Regions from separate parts of the Homo sapiens genome. Here regions 1, 2, 3, 5, 6 and 7 are each linked to region 4. Evidence: promoter capture Hi-C in 16 types of primary human blood cells and fetal thymus (Javierre and others, 2016). All regions are on one chromosome and are shown on one strand. Each heading gives the region's core, a stretch centred on a gene start or on the middle of the fragment in contact. The rest is flanking DNA. Distances are from core to core; before and after follow the strand shown. Region 1 overlaps RC3H1 (ring finger and CCCH-type domains 1). Region 2 holds the start of KLHL20 (kelch like family member 20). Region 3 overlaps RC3H1 (ring finger and CCCH-type domains 1). Region 4 holds the start of PRRC2C (proline rich coiled-coil 2C). Region 5 overlaps BLZF1 (basic leucine zipper nuclear factor 1). Region 6 overlaps DARS2 (aspartyl-tRNA synthetase 2, mitochondrial). Region 7 overlaps ZBTB37 (zinc finger and BTB domain containing 37).

What was found. The method cuts DNA at HindIII sites, captures the fragments that hold promoters and counts their contacts. A CHiCAGO score of 5 or more calls a contact.
Region 1: a fragment that was not itself captured here is called in contact with the fragment with the promoter of PRRC2C in region 4 in 1 of 17 cell types (monocytes); the score reaches 6.6 in monocytes.
Region 2: a contact is called between the fragment with the promoter of KLHL20 here and the fragment with the promoter of PRRC2C in region 4, in 1 of 17 cell types (naive CD4 T cells). The highest score is 6.1, in naive CD4 T cells.
Region 3: a contact is called between a fragment that was not itself captured here and the fragment with the promoter of PRRC2C in region 4, in 2 of 17 cell types (fetal thymus and activated CD4 T cells). The highest score is 6.1, in fetal thymus.
Region 5: a fragment that was not itself captured here is called in contact with the fragment with the promoter of PRRC2C in region 4 in 1 of 17 cell types (non-activated CD4 T cells); the score reaches 5.4 in non-activated CD4 T cells.
Region 6: a fragment that was not itself captured here is called in contact with the fragment with the promoter of PRRC2C in region 4 in 1 of 17 cell types (fetal thymus); the score reaches 5.7 in fetal thymus.
Region 7: a contact is called between a fragment that was not itself captured here and the fragment with the promoter of PRRC2C in region 4, in 3 of 17 cell types (fetal thymus, naive CD4 T cells and activated CD4 T cells). The highest score is 15.9, in fetal thymus.

What each region holds. Positions count from the first base shown.
Region 1 is chr1:173,998,549-174,001,560 of GRCh38, reverse strand. The region is part of intron 1 of RC3H1 (ring finger and CCCH-type domains 1); the gene reads left to right. Among named protein-coding and RNA genes, the nearest start is that of RC3H1, 22 kb to the left of the region's middle. The HindIII fragment of the contact is 4,144 bases long and covers 1-3,012 here.
Region 2 is chr1:173,713,651-173,716,396 of GRCh38, reverse strand. KLHL20 (kelch like family member 20) reads right to left here and starts at 1,416. Exons shown (of 12, transcript NM_014458.4): 1 at 1,319-1,416; 2 at 331-394. The coding sequence starts at 353. It also overlaps a transcript of ANKRD45 not described here. RefSeq lists enhancers at 873-1,242, 1,323-1,512. The HindIII fragment of the contact is 9,904 bases long and covers 1-2,746 here.
Region 3 is chr1:174,016,899-174,019,598 of GRCh38, reverse strand. The region is part of intron 1 of RC3H1 (ring finger and CCCH-type domains 1); the gene reads left to right. Among named protein-coding and RNA genes, the nearest start is that of RC3H1, 4.1 kb to the left of the region's middle. The HindIII fragment of the contact is 2,618 bases long and covers 69-2,686 here.
Region 4 is chr1:171,484,166-171,486,944 of GRCh38, reverse strand. PRRC2C (proline rich coiled-coil 2C) reads right to left here and starts at 1,415. Exons shown (of 35, transcript NM_001387844.1): 1 at 1,210-1,415. RefSeq lists enhancers at 862-1,610, 1,517-1,826. The HindIII fragment of the contact is 3,004 bases long and covers 1-1,609 here.
Region 5 is chr1:169,372,208-169,374,907 of GRCh38, reverse strand. All of the region lies in intron 2 of BLZF1 (basic leucine zipper nuclear factor 1), which reads right to left. Among named protein-coding and RNA genes, the nearest start is that of BLZF1, 5.4 kb to the right of the region's middle. The HindIII fragment of the contact is 3,501 bases long and covers 1-2,700 here.
Region 6 is chr1:173,827,509-173,830,402 of GRCh38, reverse strand. DARS2 (aspartyl-tRNA synthetase 2, mitochondrial) reads right to left here. Exons shown (of 17, transcript NM_018122.5): 3 at 2,004-2,070. Among named protein-coding and RNA genes, the nearest start is that of CENPL, 4.1 kb to the right of the region's middle. The HindIII fragment of the contact is 914 bases long and covers 1,060-1,973 here.
Region 7 is chr1:173,868,570-173,871,372 of GRCh38, reverse strand. It overlaps ZBTB37 (zinc finger and BTB domain containing 37), which reads right to left. Exons shown (of 5, transcript NM_001122770.3): 2 at 2,253-2,448; 3 at 225-1,173. The coding sequence starts at 1,147. It also overlaps a transcript of GAS5 not described here. Among named protein-coding and RNA genes, the nearest start is that of ZBTB37, 1.6 kb to the right of the region's middle. RefSeq lists enhancers at 1,101-1,200, 1,715-2,803 and a silencer at 2,549-2,803. The HindIII fragment of the contact is 544 bases long and covers 1,026-1,569 here.

The DNA of each region.
Region 1 (3,012 bases), core at 282-2,781, 2.5 Mb before region 4:
GCATGAGAATGGCTTGAACCTAGGAGGTGGAGGTTGCAGTGAGCCAAAATCGTGCCACTGTACTCCAGCCTGGGCAACAGAATGAGAATCTGTGTCAAAAACACAAAAACAAAAAAAGATGATGCCTTTGAGTCTGGTCACATCATTCTGCCACCTCTTTGATAATTAATGAGGGCTAATGCCCTCTTTAGTGTAGCACATTTGTATATAATGCATAACTTGAACCTGGAGATTCAAACTACATACGTAAAGTTAAAGACTGTCTTACTTTCTCAGGCACTCTGTTTCAAACTCAGGTCAGGCGGCTTCTCCATGAATGATTTTGTCCTTTCTTACTACTTCTCCTCAATCTGGTATTAGGTTGGAGATAGAAATTTTTCTTTTTGCCTCTGAACGCTGAAAAAGTAAGCAACCTGAATTAACCCCTTGAACTTTCCTCCACCTTTCTTTATCAAGTTCTATTTTTCAAGCTATTTTTTCCCTCTAACTCAGAAGCCCTTCTCTTTATGCCTGTCCCAAGTATTTATCCATTTGTACTAACATAATCATATTAAATTATTTACATCCAGGATTTTGTATATATAGGGTTACAATTCAGTCCATACATTTTGGGAAGATGTATTTTTACAATCAAAACTGGGTCTTTGTTCACAAGATATTATTGCTGGAAAAACCTTGAGCCTCAAATTTTAGACTCTATTTCCACTGTAAATTAGTTGATGCTCTGCTGAGGATTAAAAAATTAAGTGTTATAATAGGCCTTCATTAGTTTTCTTCTTTGTGTTTTTATCTCCTGCTTCTAGCTTCATTTTTCAAGGCAGTGAAACATTTTCTCTTCTCTGATGTGGCCCTACATGCTGGTTGCTATGGAAATGTTCCAGAGAAATGAAAAATTAAGTTAAGGTCAAGAATAATGAGTTAAAATCTCATCTCATCGGGCATAGTGGGAAGAGAGCCAAGATTTTCTTCTTACAGACAGTGTGGTTTTGTTTGATAAAAACATTTTTCACAGGCCAACTTATATTTCAGATATGTAAGACCTGGTGTTAATCCCAGCTCAACAGTTTATTGATTTGGGGCCGTTACTTAATGCCGCCAAACCTCAAGTTATCTTCTGTAAAATGGGCATAGTAATGCCTCAGAGGAGTGCCTGGCTCAGAGTAGATAGTTGAATTTTAATTTCCATTTTTCTCTCTCTAAATCAGGAACATATAAAATGAACCTATAATAAAGGAGATGGTAATAAATGTGTCATATGTTTAAATGAAATCTTCACAGCAATGTAATTTAGCTATTTAATAGGGCTATTGCTGTGCTCATAGAACAGATTCGAATAGTTTCTATGTTTCTACATTATTACTTAACATTTTTGAAAACTAAGACTATTAAAAAGCCCTTAATGACTATTTTAACAGCTTTATTGAAGTATAATTTACATACCATAGAATTCACTTATTTTAAATACACAAATGATTTTTAGTAAATTTACAGAGTTGTGCAACCATTACTACCATACAATTTTAAGGCATTTCTGTCACTCCCAAGAGCTCCCTTGCCATAATTACTATAAACTTTTATTCGTGTGGTGGCACAAATTATAGAGTTTCAAAGTACCAGCCTGGGAGTTTGGCTGTCCTGAGTTTGAGTCTTAGTCGTGCCACTTTCTAGCTTTGTGACTTGGGTACTTTGGTTTCCTTATCTTTAAAATGGGCATAATAACTACATTACAGTGTTACTGTGAACATTAATTAGATACTGTATATAGAGCACTGAAAGTATAATATCCTAGTTTTTGCTTCACAAATGTTGGTTATTGGTGGTAGTCCACATTGTGGATATTTAAATAAGAGAAACATCTGAAAACACCTAGCACAGTGACTGACACATGATTGATTTTCAGAAAACAAAGCTGTTCTACGTCTTTCCAGATGCATCATGTCATCACAATTTTGTCTGTAGTTGCTCATTGACAATGTTTTAATCATACTTAAACATCGATGCTCACAATATGTAGTTATTTGTTATTTTGCAGAGGCATACATTTGAATTTAACAGCTAAGGGAGCTGTAAGACTTGGAGTTTGGTATCTACAAACTAGTTACTTAGCTGGTGGACCCAAGCAAGTAGCCTTGTTGTTTATAATTCATATCTTTCTTTCTCTCTCTCTCTTTTTTTTTTTTTTGGTGGAGTTTTGCTCTCATTGCCCAGGCTGGAGTGCAATGGCACGATCTCGGCTCACCGCAACCTCTGCCTCCCAGGTTCAAGTGATTCTCCTGCCTTGGCCTCGCGAGTAGCTGGGATTACAGGCATGTGCCTGCTAATTTTTGTATTTTTAGTAGAGACAGGGTTTCTCTATGTTGGTCAAGCTGGTCTCAAACTCCTGACCTCAGGTGATCTGCCAACCTCAGCCTCCCAAAGTCCTGGGATTACAGGTGTGAGCCACCACGCCCAACAGTTTTTTTTTTTAGAGATGGGGTTTCTCTGTGTTGCCCAGGCTGCAGTGCAGTGGTGTGGTCATAGCTCACTGAAACCTTGAACTCCTGGGATCAAGCATACCTCCCACCTCAGCCTCCTGAGTAGCTGGGACTACAAGTACGTGCCACCACACTCTGCTCATTTTTTATTTTGCTTATAGAGACAAGGTCTTGCCTTTTTGGCCAGGTTGATCTCAAACTCCTGGTCTCAAGTGATCCTCCCACCTCAGCCACCCAAAAGTGCTGAGATTGCAGGCGTGAACCACAGCACCTAGCTGAAATAATTTTTTTATTTTGATAATAAGATCTTTATTTCTTTGTTAAGAAAAAAAACCTGAGTAAAGTCAAATGGTAATATTAGTGATAAAAGTTTAGAGATTTAAGAAAGTGGTGGTTCTTAACCAGAATTTAGACATTGGGATAAATTAATAGTGAAATGTCAGATGTGATATTCTGTACTGTAGCTTCAGTCAATGCCATGAACAAGGCATATAACTGAATAAAGCAGTCTTTTCAGTGTTTTCTGTGAGCACTCTTT
Region 2 (2,746 bases), core at 167-2,666, 2.2 Mb before region 4:
TCCTCTACATTTTATAGGGAACTGAAGATTATAATAAATCCATATAGTATCATAATGAACTTAATGATTATTTACTGTAAAAAACATGAAAAAAGGAAAATTTAAGTGTTTAGCACTACATACAATCCACAGCACTTTTCAGAAACAACTTCTGTATTTTATTCTATTAAAAAGCTATTAATTCTTAATATTACTTTTGATTTATTGTAGAACAAGACTCATTAGTTCCAAGCAGAATTTAGTAAGATTGAAACTCTTTTTTAAAAATTTAAATTATTACATGCTGAATTTTAATCAGTGAAACCAAAGGTTTTCTTCCTAAATGCCTACCTGCGCATTGGCTTTCCTTCCATGCACCATGAAAAGTACCCTTCACCACACTCTAAAGCCGAACCTAAGACAACAGAAAAGCAGGAACTTAATAAAAGCTATTTCTGATCTTTACAGTAACAATCTTTATATAATCATTTCACTCATTTCGTCAGTTATCAAGAGTTTCATATCCTATTATACCACAGGCCTTCTGCAGATGCACAATAACTTAATCTAGTACATTTAAGATTACCATCCTTACTCTGCATGCTAAAACGATTAAAGTAAAGGTGAGGGAAAGTATGCTAAATAGTCCCGACTGTTAGGTCAGTCTTGTTTCTCTTCAAAAAGTGCTTGGAGATATTTAACTGTGATCTCGACATCAAGTATATTTACAGAACAAGCACCAGATACCCACAGCAGTACTAACCTGATAGATCACATAGGGTACACGAGGCTTTAATAACGAATCTGAAGATTGTTAACTTGTCCCGAAGTGACAGGAGGAGGAGGCGTCTGCATTTGCCTTTACAAACAACTCCGCTTCCGACAGTCCAGGGAGCTTGAACAGGGCAGGGAAAGTATGGCTCCAGACTAACACTCTTTACAAGCATTTCCTTCAGTCCCCGATACAATGTTCACTACCCACGTAGCAGGATTTCGCCAGGTCCCGAGGGTTAAATGGGGGCGCACGTACTTTCTTCCTTCCCTGAATTCCAAACACTGTCTGGGGAAGCTGTCCAGGATGCGAAACCCCAGCACCACCAGGCAGGACAAAGCCCGGGGCCTCCTCTGGCTCCCGAGATAGGCTGTCAGCCAGCGAGAGCGCACTCTGGCGCTCCGCGAGGCCCGGCCCCAGCGCCCCAACAGTCTCTTCTCGGCGCCGACTGACAGGCGACCGACCTGACCCCATGGGGCAGCTCAGCAACTTGGGACCACATATCTGCGAAGCGAGCCCTGGGGCGCTGTCCGCTGTCCCCTGCTCTAAGGTGACTGGCTCACTTACCGGCTCTGACACTTTCTTCTCTGCAGCAGCCTCCTCCGTCTACTCCGCCCTCCACTCCTCTCTGCCTCCTCCTCCACCGCCGCTAACGCAGGCAGGATGCCGCTCGTAGAGCTATTTCCTTTCCCTTCACCGGCCCATATCCAGAAGCAGGAAGTAGTCCTATTCTTAAATCGTTCCCGCAGGAACCCACATAATCCGCCAAGGGGTTCCGGTGCGGCTCCGGAAGTAGTCGTGCCCTTTGCTGGGGCATTCAGGTAACCTCAGAGGTTGTTTATCCTCGTGGGGGTTCCTTGTATCCCAAGAGTAACCATTTTTAGAATTCACTGCGGAACTGGCAGTATTTGAATACTGAAGCCTCCTCTTTTCTTCTTTGTTTTCGCCAGCAAAGGCAGTAAAGGGTAGTCACAGAAAGCTAAGAATTTGTATTTCTTTTTAGTTGGTGGGTCTCCTTTTGGCACAATGTTCCTAATTGTGGATTGAATTATTGCATGCACACATGGGTTGGCATGTATCTGTCAGGCCTCTACTATGTGCAAGGTGCAGAAGTTAGATAGACAGACCAGAGATAGACCTTATCCTCCAGATTTCCCACGGTCAAACTTTCAGGACACCAGGATTTTATCCAGGCTCTAAGGCTGTGTTAGTCTGCCCTTTCTACTTAGTATTCACCACCAGACACTTCACCAAACACATCTTCTGTGGATTCACTTTAATGTTAAGGAGGGAAGAGTATATTTTCTTAAAAAAATTTTTTTTCAGTAGCAAGCAGAGCCAAAAAAGTATATTTTTAAAATTATCTTTTCCTCCAGATTTTCCCATAGCACACAGCCACCTGATTTTTACCGTATATTAATATTTAGAAAACAAGTGATACAAGTGTAAGGTGGGGATTACAATTTCAGGAATATCAGAGAAAGACTGTTGCTGATTTCCTGGTAAGTATACTAGGCTAAGTATTAACCAGATTTTCTTTAGCTGTTCTTTATGTAGAATCTACACAGGTGTGTCCAGTTGTTTCTGAGGGGAAAGGATACCTCTTGTTAATTAGCTTGTAGTGGAAAATACATGGCCTTTAGATCCAGATATAGTGGCCCAGTGGATTCTTCTTGCCTGCTGCCCAGATACAGATGATTTATCAAGGTATAGGGATTGCAATGGAGAAAGAGTTTTACACAACATCGAGTGGAAAAATGGAAGAAGTTTTATTATTACTCAAATCAGTTATATTATTACTCAAATCGGCCTCCTGGAGCATTTGGGGGCTAGGTTTCTTTTCAAAGGTAGTCTGGGGAAAGGGGTAGGGGTGGCTAGGCAATGGGTGCTTGCTGCTGACTGGTGCAGTCATAGGGGTATGGGAGATGGTCCTCCTGCCTACTGAGTTGTTTCTGGGTGGAGCCACAGGAACAGTTGGTGGGTCCAGGTGGAGCC
Region 3 (2,700 bases), core at 128-2,627, 2.5 Mb before region 4:
AAAAAAGGGTAATTTGTACACAACGCCTTTCAGAACATATTTGTTGAATGAATAAAAATATTTAAGCTTCCTCATTATGCTGCAGTATTAGTTCTGTTGTCCTCATTTTTTCATATGAAGAATGTGAAGCTAAGAGTAGCTATGTAACCAGCAAAAAGATCACATAATTAATAGGTAAAAGAGCTTACTCAGACTCAGATCTTGTGACACAAATTAGATTCTTTGCCACTACCACATGTGTCACAGTTAAACTTTGAAGCATCTTCTGTGTTGACAGATTCCTTTTTTTGCCTGTGAACTTACCCTATTATCATTATTTGTATCCTGTCAGATATCTACTTGTAAGACCAAGAAAGTATTTGTTCATGTGAATCACAAAAGAAACACTTAAATTTTTGTTTTTAGCATATCTGAATGCTATAAAATATAAAAACTCATACTGTTTACATAGGACAGATTTATCATACTGCTGTAATTGTTTTCATGGTTAATTTGTTACATAGGCAATTACTAAATTGTGCCTTTGAAATACTTTATAAATTTTTTTAAATAATTAAAGATATTCAATGATGTTAAAGTTGGGTCAGCTAATATTTGAAGTTCTTAATTTATAATTTTTTTTCTTTAAGCCATAGATAATTTAGAATTCTGCAGTATTTTTCATCTCCAGATCTTAGGGCTTGAAATGGATTCTGATGGGTCTAATCAGTCCACTCTTGCATATATCTTGAAAATGGTCAGCATCCAACAAAGTGAAGAATAAACTGATAAATGATCCCTGTTTGGTGAACACCTCAGATCAGGATGTTCCTTGGCAGGGTATTCTGACCTGGTTTAGCTTTGGCCCCGTCTGTGCTCAGGGTTCAGGTATTCTGCAGGATTGGGTTCAGAGGGATTAAAATTCTCAGATTGGCCTGTATCAAAACAGTCACAGATTTTGGTCAGCCTTTTCCCAGAACCGTCTCCAAGATTTTTTCTTTTGTGTAATTCTGGAATCTAGGCTGGATTTGGACTAGCTTTAGAGGTTATGATAAAAGATTAATTTTGTCAGGCATTTATACAAAGGAGGTTTTCTTACTACAGAGTTTCTTAAGGTAGATTCCTTCTATTTTTGAAGTGTGACATTTACCAATCTGAAGTAATGTTGCCCTACATCCCCCAGACACTTAACTTTAGCATATTTATTTCTGTCCATTTTTGGTCAGGATTGTGCCTGTTTACTTATATAATATTCTTGTTTACTTTTTGTTTATTAGATACTTCTTATTAGTTTATATTGTTTTCCTGATTGAGGCTTGGGGAAAGAATTTTCCTCAAATTTAAAGTCACCTTACTTATTTGCAGATGTATGTCAGAGCAATATTCTTTTGACAGTTATCAAGCATTTTAGCAATGCTGTATGTATATATTATGAATGAATGACAGAGTCACTCATGGTCTGTCACCCAGGCTGGAGTGCAGTGGCATTATCATAGCTCACTTCAGCCTCAAACTCCTTGGTTTAAGTGTTATTCCCGCCTTACCTGGCTACTTTTTTTAATTTTTATTATTTTTATAGAGATAGCATTTTGCTGTGTTGCCCAGGGTGGTCTCAAACTCCTGGGAGCAAGGTGATCCTCCCACTTCTGCCTCCCAAAGTGCTGAGATTACAGGCATAACAATGTTTTAAACTGACACTGGTATACCTTCACTGATTATTACTGTGCACATGTGGTAATAATTTAACTTATAAGTGCATTTTATCTAAAAAATTTCCAAGATCTAAATAGCATTTGAACATGGTAGCAGTTTTTTTTTTTTTTTTTTTTTTTTTTTGAGCAAGAAAAGAGTTCTAAAGGGGTCAGTTTTATCTACAGATTAACATAATTTTTTTTATTGAGGTTAAGTCACATAACATTAACCATTTTAAAGTAAACAGTTTAGGTGGCACTTTATACATTCACAATGTTGTTCAACCACCAGCTCTAATTCCAGAATGTGTTCATTACCCCAAAAGGAAACACTGTACCCATTAAGCAGTTACTCTGTATTCCCCTCTTCCCTAATCCCTAGCAAACGCCATTCTGCTTTCTGTCTCTAATTTGAGCCAACATCGAGGAAGAGTACTCTGTACAATTGAAATTGCAGAAAAAACTTTGGGATGTGATTGTTAGGAATAAAAAACCACCTAATTCTTTGCATGCTTCTCTAAGTACAGTAGACATGCTGCCAGGGACTCTTTATGGAAGAAAAGTTGAGACTCATAGAAGTTTGCAGTTTTGTTTTGATCACCCCAGAGGGTTTTGCTCAAACTCTTAGACTCATTTGTATTTCTTCATTGGGTTATAAGAACTAAAATTTAATGTTCTATACAAATGTGAACAACTAATACTTGGTCTCCTATCTAGAACTTGTTTGCCTTTTAGGTTTTCTTAATGTATAGAAGAAACTAGGAATATTCACAAAGGATTTATTTGAAGTTACACTGGGAAACGATTTTTAGAATTTGAAGCTCTTTGATCCCTGTGAATCTAACTTTATGACTATTTTATTCAGCTAATCTTTGAGAATATTTAGAGTTTTGATTTGCGTGGCACTCTGCTTTTAATCCCTTGTTGAATAAGTGTTAGAAACCTTGATCTTGGCCCTATACCTGATCACCTCTAAAAACATGAACAGTGTTACAAAGGCAGTTGTTTAGTAAGCTTTTTTGGATTGTTT
Region 4 (2,779 bases), core at 166-2,665:
GAAAAGATGCTGCAGTGCATCTGTGACACACACCTAAAAATGGCTCCAGTCAAAGCAGCATCTTAATTACCAATATGGGAGGTGAAATCTAGTTTTGAAAAATGGTGGGGTTAGGCTTGGTAGGTGCTTAGTATCACCCTATTATTTTTATTTGCAGGAGTAAGCTATTAAGTACTCAACAATCAAAAAATCCTCCGATTCTTCTGGTGCATTCCAAATGAAAATCTTACAGCAGAGCCGCCTACTGTACAATTCTAAGTACTCTAACGAGGTATGAATCTATGAACCCAGGCTGAAAACCAGCCAATGCGGAAATCCAGGTAGCTTTATAAGCCAGCAAACATCAGGCATGTCAGACCCTCAAAAGATCCCAAATAATGTCAAAACACACATACATCCCTTTAAATTAAAGGTACTCCTCTCATGCAAAGGAAGGAAGACTCTATCAATGTCTCTATAGTGGCCCCATGCCCTTTTCTTCAGTCCTAAAACGGGGCCTTTACCCTGACACCACCAATATCAACGCTATCTCAAAGACAGGGAGCTACCGAGATTCACCACGCAAGTTAGAGGATGGAGCGGCCTAGAGTGTGAAAAGACTACCCAAATCCTCCTCCGGAGTTGGGCAGCACTTCCCTAGCGGAAGTAGGGTTGGTCTTGATTCCCCGAAGAGCCTCTCATCTAACCAGGTCTTTAAACCAGACCCTCCCATACATTGCTCATTGCAAGTCCCACCCTCACTACACAGGAAGAGGTAGACAGTGAAAGCCCCGGCTGAGTCCTTCAGTTGTTTGGGGAAACGCATACCCGACACTAAAAAAAAAAAAAAAAAAAAAAGACTTCACGTCCGCCAGTCCAGGAAGACGGAAACCCCCTTCGCTTACCCGGCAACATGCGTAATCCCCTCGCAGGGCCAGGACTGGGGTCTAGGTGGGAGCAAGACAGACCGGTCCAGAACTCCCGCTGCAGACCACATGGGGCGGGTCTGACTCCGGTTTCCCGCTCCCCAAGCTGGAGGCCGACTTCCCCAGACACAGAGATGATGGTAACCAAACAGAAGGGAAATGCCCGGACCCAAGGCCCTCTCCACGCGGCCCCCTAGCCTCCGGGCGCCAGGGTCTGGGTGCGCTCCCACGCCCCAGGCCGCACTCTGGCCGTTCCCGATGGGGCCCTCTTTGATCGCGGCCCCCACACCCTCGCTTTCCTTACCGGTCAGGGTGAGTGTCAAGTTTGCGCACTTCGAGGGTCTCCGCCGATCTCTGATCGAAAGAAGGGGGAGGGAAAGCTGGGGTTAAAGGGGTGGCCGGAAGGGCCACCAGACTGGAAAAGCCGAAGCTGCGGATGGACAAACCGCCAAAGCACTTTCGCAGCTTTCCGAGGGGGAGCGAGCGAGCGAGAAAAAGAAGCAAGATGGCGGCTAGCCAGCCCCTACGTACTACGTCATGACGCTAAGTACGTAGGTCAAATCTCCGCAAGACCACACTCCTGCGCAGAGACGGCCGGATCACGTGAAGCCTCCGTGGCGGCCCAACCCCGACAGAGGGTGCTGGCGCTTCCTGCTGGACGGAGGGAGTTTCTGCAATCAGAATTATCTTTTCAGGACAAAGCTTGGACCTGAGACCTTTCTAAGAAGTCTTGAATTGACCACGTTTACAAGTTGATAATAAGCCTCAGTGAAATGAGCACTCTTATGTCTGGTGGGTGGATGTGTAAATGGTTGAACCAGCAGTTCGCCAGTATGTCTCAGTGAATTTGGGGCAAGCTGAGAAGTCTTGGTGTATTGAAAAGTTATCACAGAGAGTGAAAGTAAAACTAGTGTGAGGAACAGAGTAGCATGGGCTGCTGAGAGCACTTTTTAAGTTTCTAATTATGGATGTGAGATAAGCCATTCAGTTTATTTATATGATCTCTCCATCACAGTGTTCAGCTCCGTTGAATAGTAAGATTCACCCATGCTGGCTTTTACTAGGCAAGTGTAACATAGGCAGATGAGTGTATCTGGAAGTGGGAGACTACAATGATGATAATATTATGTCAGAACAGATGGCGAATGTTTAGTAAATGGTATCTTTTGTCCTCTTTGTGAACTACCTATGACATATTTAAAATTCAAGGATTTCTTACCACTTCTGGTCTGAACGATCTTCCCCGCCAGTAGCTGGTGTATGTCCATGGAATTGTCACTGTAGCAATGTTAGAATAAATGAAATAATAAAGAGAGGTAAATTATGAACACCTCCCTCCCCACTAATATTAATTTGAAGTAGAAAAGTCTGGACTTGCTTGGTGGCTCATGCCTGTAATACTAATACTTTGGTAGGTCAAGGCAAAAGGATTGCTTGAGACCAGGAGTTCAAGACCAATCTGGGCAACATAGTGAGACCCTACCTCTGCAAAAAAATTAAAAAGAAAAAAAGCTAGCTAGGCATAGTGGCACATGCTTATAGTCCTAGCTACCTGGGAGGCTGGAGGCAAAAGGATCACTTGAGCACAGGAGGTTGAGGCTGCAGCGAGACTCTTTCTCGAAAAAATAGAAAAGAAGAAAAGAAAAAGTTTTTTTATTGATATAGGGTCATTGCCAGGGGAAAGCCTACTGATCATCCACAAGAGGACAAGGAAGCATTACTTTAGTGAATTTCTACAACCTTCTAGGATCTGGTCTATAGTGTCCTGGTCACAGAAACATCTTTCTTTGTTTTTTTGGAGGCAGGGTCTCACTTTGCTGCCCAGGCTGGAGTGTAGTGGCATAATCACAGGTCACTGAAGCCTCAACCTCCCA
Region 5 (2,700 bases), core at 162-2,661, 2.1 Mb after region 4:
AATAAGAATACATGTAAACTGTTTAGAATGGTATTTGACACAGTAAGCACTCATTAAATGTTAGGTCCTATTGCTTTTATTATTCTTTAAATAAATTCCTAATAAACTTTGGATGTTGATATAGACAGAAATAAAGTTAATTTATTTAATGCCATAAAATACAATTCTGACTTTCATTCTGTTATGTAAATCTTAAAGTTATATTGCTAGACTATAGGACTATTTATTCAAGTAACAGATTTACTTTTTTCAAATTTTTCCCATGTAGAAATGTTCTGGGAACCTCGAGTTATGTTAATTAGACAGGAGGTGGAAACATAGCTGAGGTATAATTAATGTGTTCTATTTTACAAAACATTTTACATTAGAATAAAATCGTGTCATTTCCATATGAAATGTAAACTAAGTTTAAACACCCCTTGGGCCTTGGGATTGACTCTACTTTTAAAAAGATAAACAAAGGAATACTTCAGAAAGTGAAATAAAGGCCTAACATGCTGGGTTTGGTAAATTAGTTAAAACAAAGCATGGTAGCACTGACAAGGAGAACTTCCACTGAATCATTTAAAAACAGCTTACTGCAGCCTTGACTTCCTGGGCTCAGGTGATCCTCCCACCTCAGCCTCCCAAGTAGATGGGACTACAGGCATGTGCCACCATGACCAAATAATTTTTTGTATTTTTTTTGTATTTTTTTTTTTTTTTGTAGAGACAGGGTTTCATCATGTTGTCCAGAATGGTCTTGAAATCCTAGGCTCAAGCAATTCTCTGGCCTCAGCCTCCCAAAGTGCTTGGATTACAGATGTGAGCCATCACACCCAGCTACCTGTATTCTTAAAATCTGATTTTAAGTTTGTCTAAACTTAACTAACTTGTCTAATCTTGTCAATAAGACATTCTGGCATTTAAGAAGTAACACAGAATCATGTATTAACTATAAATTAATAAAAACCATCAACAATAAAAACACGCACTACAGCCATGGTTCAGGCCCACTGAGGCTGAGGAAATAAAAAACAGGTGTGATACTTCCATTATGGTCAAATAAAATTTCTAGGCAAGCTGTAACATTTTTGAGTTGGAATTTTAAGTAACAGAGATTCAAGAACAAATTACAAAATGATTAAAGTTAAATTTAAAAGGCAAAGAACCATTAATAGGTATTTAACAGAAATCTCTTTTTGAACAAAATACCTTGTTGGAAAATCAAGAAGTTCAACCAACTTGTTTCCACCCCAATTTACTCTTAACTTTATTTAAACTGTTCTACTTACTCAAGCATTTATGAATATCAAAGTTGTATTATATATTACGTGAGAGCTCCCGCTCAGTAATAACTATGATTCTAGCTAATGTGCATAGGTAAACAGGCCGTAAGAGCCAGGGCTTAACATTTTCTCACCTGGTAACTTTCGTAATTCGATTTTTCCTTGTGACATACCTAGAAACCTTTATTACATATGCAGTAGGCACAATCCAGGACACATTTACGAATAATTACCTTCTCTCAATTGGGAAGACAAGGACCTATGGTAACAGCTCCATAATTATGAGTAACGCTTAAGTCAAGAAAAACACCAATCCTTATTCTTCCCCACTATTTGAAGGGAACCAACAAAACAATCCTTAAATTATTCATCATCATTACTTCCACCTGTGATCAATTATCAATGAATTAAAACATATCTAAGGTTTGCTCATTCGTATTGCCTACCAGGATTGGTGAAATGTAGGGAAAGAACAAAGAAGGTCACTAGTCTAACATTCTAGGATGGGAGCTGGCAAACTTTTTCTGTAAAGGACCAGAGAGTAAATATTTTAGGCTTTGTGAACCAAAAGGTAAAATTGAGGATACCATGTAAGTATTTAATAAGAGAAAAAAAATTTATTGATGAAATTCAAACTATAACAACAATAATTGAAAACAATTTTTTGATAACATAGGTCTAATAATGGGAAGAACAGATTTTTTTTTAATTCAGGATAATGTTTGGCTTAAATAGTGTTAATGTCCACTATTATCAAACTGATTGCAGATATTCTCAGGAGGCTGAGGGCCACAATTTGCCAACCCTTGCTCTAGAATATTGAGGCAAAAAAAAATTTATTGTCTGTCATTGAACAAATATTTCTCTTTTATTCATAAAACTTCAATCTATGATGAGAGGTACTCTAAGTCAGCAGAATGGGGTAGTGAAAAGAAATCTAACTCACTAGAGCCTGAGTTAAAATAACTTAAGTCCCTACTGCCATGTATTGTGTGACCTTGGACAAAGCACTTAACCTCATCCTCCTCCCATCCCTTGGTGCTTTCAGAGTAATGCAAACATGGTAGTATATATTTTAAAAATAATTTGTTTCTCTTGTAGACTAGACTGTTGGGAGCTCTTCAGGGTATGGACCGCCTCCTAATCTTTGTGTCATGAACTAATAAAATGGTCCTTGTCACAGAGAAAATGAATAAATGCTTACTGAAGCTCATTAGTCTGTTAATACACTACCTAGAGTGTTTCATTTTTAACATCCAAAAACTAACCCATTTAAAAACTGCTTTATTTTTTTTCCTCTACCCTAAATCATTAATTCCTAACTTGGTTATAGTCTGAAAGACTTTCCAGAACATATACAAATTCAGCTATGATACAGTTAAACAAATTAGGGATTGTCATGTGGTAATTTTAAATCAAGAGTCTTTTTAAA
Region 6 (2,894 bases), core at 267-2,766, 2.3 Mb before region 4:
ACTATTATTAGTGCAAACAAGTCCCACATACTTGAAAAGCAATTGTCTCCAGGGTTAGTCTTAGGGGCAGTTAAATCCCATAGCAATAATGGGTCAGAGTCAAAGGAGTTCTCCAGGGTTAGCTATACTCATCTCTGGATGTTGATCCCTAAAAGATAATTCATTGCTCTTTATTTATTTCAAAACTTAAGAGCTGAATAAATAATATTTTTCTTAGGCATACAAGCGTTAGTAAAAATTGCAATAGAAACCAACTTTGCCCAGTAAGTATGATGGAAGTTCTTTATTTTATCTAATTCTTTAATTTTAATTTTTTTTTTTGACACAGGGTATCACTCTGGTGTGCACTCTGGAGTGCAGTGGTGCAATTTTGGCTCACTTCAGCCTGAACCTCCTGGGCTCAGGTGATTCTCCCAACTCAGCCTCCCAAGTAGCTGGGACTACAGGCACATGCCACCACACCCAGCTAATTTTTTGTATTATTATTATTTTTTTGAGATAGAGTCTTGCTCTGTTGCCTAGGCTGGAGTACAGTGGCGTGATCTCGGCCCACTGCAACCTCTGCCTCTGGGTTCAAGTGATTCTTTTGCCTCAGCCTCCTGAGTAGTTGGGGTTACAGGAGCCCGCCACCACACCCGGCTAAATTTTTGTATTTTTAGTAGAGACGGGGTTTCACCATGTTGGTCAGGCTGGTCTTAAACTCCTGACCTCGAGATCCACCTGCCTCAGCCTCCCAAAAGTGCTGGGATTACAGGAGTGAGCCACCGCACCTGGCCAATTTTTTGTATTTTAGTAGAGACGAGGTTTCACTGTTGCCCAGGCTGGTCTCAAACTCCTGTACTCAATCTGCTGGCCTCGGCCTCCCAGAGTGCTGGGATTACAGGTGTGAGCCACCATGCCTGGCCTTGAATTTTTTAATTAAAAAAATTTTTTTTTCAGAATATCACTCTGTCATATTTTATCTAATTTCAATGGTAATTAAATTAAATACTTTTTTGAGCAGTAATACCGTCACATGGCTTCAAATTCAAGGGGTACAAAAAGATATAGTAAAAAGCTTCCCTCCTATCCTTGTTTTCAACGCCCTCAGTTCCTTCCCCCAGCAGCACCTAATGTTACCAGATACTTAGGTATCCTTCCAGAGACATTTCCTAACATATATACAAGCAAATACACACACACACACACACACACACACTGAATGTATATTCTGCATCCTTCCCCCAGTTTTTATACAGATGACAGCACTTAGAGTGCTGGAGTTTAACAGCTGCTCTTTTGTATACTCAAGAATACAGGGTTCTTCACTTAACAGTATTCCTTGGATTTTTTTTTCCCTATTAGAATAGAACTTCTTCATTCTTTTTTGTACGGCTGAGTAGAGTATTGTATTGTAAGAATATACATTATTTTTTAAGCCAGTCTCTTATTGGAGGACATCTGGGTGGTTCCCAATTTTTTTCCGTTAAAAAGAATCCTGAAATGAATATCCTTGTACATATGTCATTTTATATCTGTATAAGTCTAGATATAAGATAATTTACCAGAAGTGAAATTAATGGCTCAAAGGATATATGCATTTATAGTTTTGATATTGCCAAATTGCTCTCCCTTCAGCTAGTGCCAATTTGTACTCCCTCCAGGTATTGAGCACCTGCTTTCCCAAACACAGTGTGTTGTCAATCTAATGTGTTAAAAATGACAATTACATGCAGTTTCAATTCACATTTCTCTACCTATGAGTGAGGCTGGGCATACTTTCATTATGTCTACAAGCCATTTATATATTTTTTTCCTCTAAATTTTTTGTTCGTATCCTGGGTTCCTAATTCTACTGGGTCACTGGTCTTTTTGCTATGTCTTAACATTGCTTATATTTTTCAGTTTTCATTAACAATAAACTTCTGAATTTAAAACCTCTAACATATTCATCTAACTACTTAGCTTACCCCAGCAATAGCATCAAAGAAGCTTTTAGATAATAACAGGAAATTTTCTATTACCTCATCCTGGGGAATGATAACTTGAACAAGCCCATCGAAATCTCTTAGGACCAAGAATGTGTTTTGCCTGATTAATGGGGGGGGGGAAAAGAAACATTTTAAGATAAAATCTCTAAGTCCAAAGTTGAAGCATACAAAATAAAAAGCAAACAAAAATCCATGCAATTTTTCATGTTTCTTTTTTATGATAATTATAATTTTTCATGTTTTTTATGATAATTATGTACCTTCATTAGTTACATTCATGCAATTGTTATCTATGTAGCTCATTGCCAAAAAAAAGATTGTTTTTTATTTCAGTTTCAATTTTTATTGTCTACTTACCTGGTATATTAATCTTATACAGATGGCTTATTAATGAAAAATTATTATAGATGAACAATTAAAAGAAATTTCATTGGCTTAAGTCCTTTTAAGAAAATTTTATTAAATTTGGAAACTTTGCATATAGTAAAATCCAAAGATAGTATTTTAGCATAATAGAAACATCTGATGGATCATTTTTGAAATATAGCAATATAGTCTTTTTCTAAAAAAAGATACAATCTAACATTTTCTGGAAGAGTTCCAACTACTAATTTAATACCTCTATGAATCATCAAAAGGTCCCAGAAATGCCAACATTTTAACATCCAACCTCTATTTCTCATACTATCCTCAGCATCAGGAACAGGTACAGAAACCCTCTTCAGATTTGGGTTCAGGAAACAGTCACTAAACTTATGGGAAAAATATCCACCTACTTGGGACAAACTTTTTTTTTTTTCCTGAGACGGAGTCTCGTTCTGTTGCCCAGAGTGGAGTGCAGTGGCGCAATCTCAGCTCACTGCAACCTCTGCCTTCTGGGTTCAAGCAATTCTCCTTCCTCAGCCTCCTGAGTAGCTAGAATTA
Region 7 (2,803 bases), core at 48-2,547, 2.4 Mb before region 4:
CTTTACCACAGTTCTCACAACATTGTGAATACTTCAGGAATGGAGCTTCCTGGTTTAAAAAAATAAGAATGCAAGTCTTTTGGCACACCTCCAGTTTCCCCATCATCAACTTATTTTGACCAAGAAAATCAGGTAAGGAAAATGCTCTCTGTACTACAGAGGACACTTTAGTGATGTCTACACAATAGCCATTACATGGGAAAACCAAACCAAACCAAACCTACCTGTCAACTTCACTGCTTGTTGGCCGAGCCACCTTGGCTCCTGAAGACCCTAAAGTATAATTTTCCTGTCCTACAGAACCATGGCCTGTGGTATCAATCACCATGGCTGTTACTTCCTCTGCACTACTCCCATCTTCTCCAGAAGGCTGATTCTCAGGCCCAAGCCACTCCTCCAGATTTTCAGTTTTGATGTGTACTGCTCCAAGAACTCTAACTTCATCATCACTCCGACCCCCACGGTCCGCCACTCCTGTCTCCACATACCACTGTCCTGCTCGGTTGATCCGAAGAATGGGCTCCCGGCTCTCTACATCAGAACTTGGTTCAATGATCTGAGGGCTGGTGGACTCCTCAGGAGGACTTAGCTCTCTGATATCCAGCACAGCACTAACCTGACCTCGCCGGTTTCCCTTTGGGGTATTATGTCGTGGGCTAAGGGAGCGGTTGAGATTTGGTGTAACCCTGTGAGACTCTGGAGGTCTCTCTTGATGCTTTGTCCTTGTTTGACTTAATTCTGCTTCAACCTCAGCCACATTAATTTTGAAATGAATGCCCTCCAGGATCTGTGTACATTTGTCTATAATATGCTGCATTTGCAGAAAACTGGCAGCTGTTAGGTAGCTGATGATATCTGCCAGTTGCAGGCATATCCGCCCTGTGTAACAGAAAGAAAGGAGCTGTTCAAAAACAGTAGGGTTCTTGATGACTGAAATGGAGACTGTACTCATCTCATTCAAGGACATGTGATCCCGGAAATAGGGGGAGCTGGCAGCCAGCACCACTTTGTGAGCCCGAAAAGCTTGTCCTTGCACATTGACCACAATATCACAGAGACGGCCCTGCATGCGCAACTGGTTTAGATGGCTCAGGACAGAGTTGCTGAAGTCAGGAATCTCCAATTGTATGTTCCCACCTTTCTCCATGGTCGTGCCTGAGGGTGCATTCAACCCTGCTGAAAAAAGAAACCATATTCTCATTAATAATTATAATTTTACTTCCCGGATGGTTTCCATTTCAAAAGTATTTAAACATAGTTATCTGGTAAAGTTTCAAAATCTCCAGATAAAAGAAATACCTTCCTTATATTTAGATGTGGAAACAGAATCACCAACAGGTTTTTCAGTTTAAGTTTCACAGGAGGACATAGTTAAAACTAAAAAGTGATCTTTAGACTCCTAAAAATTCATGTTATGACCATGCTTTCCTTACTAATAAGTTATATAACATCAAAACAGAAGTTCAACAGAAGGTAGGGGGAAGGACTTTTAAGTGTTAACTATAAGGTACTTGCAGACTGAATATAACATCTCATAACTTTACAACTTTTCTCTGGAGGAGGAAAGCTTTCTGAATAAATGCAATTCTACATAGCTTGATATCCCTCTTCTTAGTATTTTACTACCTGCTGCAAGAATTATGTTTATTATTTTATAAAAGGACTAATATCCCACATGAATGTAGGCTAATATTTCTAAGCTTAAGAATCAGAGCCCCCCCCACAAAAAGACTTTGGTTATAGGGCTGTGAAGCAAACTCTAGGAAAAATCCCACAGCTGTGCCAGGATTCAACCAAGATGCAGAGAATGTGAAGTTCAGTTGTCAAAATTAGGAAAGCTGGGTAAATCTGCCAAATTCGAAGTTGGCAATTCCGAGGTGGTGATGAATACTTCCATCCTGAAACTTAGTTCTCCAGATCCGATGAAAAAATACAGCATTTACCAAGTATGCCAACATTTTTCCATTAAAATATTTTTAAAAAATGGCTGAAACACTAAACCTGAAGCTGTATACAAGATAGTTGAAAGTACAGTTTCAACTACTGAAAATAGTTTGTATAAATCCGAACAGGAAGACATTTACTTAAGCCCAATGTGCGTTCACTTATCTATATATTACATAGTTACACCACACCTGAAACTTCAGGAACTTACTCTGCCAAGCTCACAGTACTGCCCCGCATTAACAACACACTTATTAAATAGGGAAGTGTATACACTGTTTTCAACAATCAACTTTAGCCAATCTGACCTTTTTCCAAAGCGTTATTGTTTGTTTTGAAACTTTTAATCCAATAAGAGCCTCTGTCGATGCCATCATGAATTCAGATGTGTTTATTTTGGAGCCTACACCAGCGCCTTTTTTGTTTGCTCTTTCCGGCAATTCCCCAGTGAGGAAGCCCCTGGAGGAAAGTCTTTCGCTACCGTCGGCACTGGAGGGGTGAGAGCTGTAAAAGGGAGAATTGGGAACGGCATGGGGTTGGCCACTCCAGCACTTGAGCAGCTTTCTTCTGCGTTAGGAAGCCTGGGGAGAGGGGAACTGGCTAAAGGGCAAAATGTCACTGAGGAACTTCGGAGAAGATGGGGACAAGGCGTCGGGCGGGGGAGCCAGCGCTCAGGTGAGAACTAGGAAGGGGGCGGCGCCCAGGGACCGGCTCCAGGCGGCGGCGGGCGGGGAGCTGCCAGGAGGTGGGTGTGCGTATCTGGGTGTGTCCCGGCTGCGGTGGGGGAGGGGGCCGCCCTTCCCGGGGTCCTGAGGGAGGGGCCCCGCGAGGGGGCGGGTCCGGCAGATCAGCCCGGCCG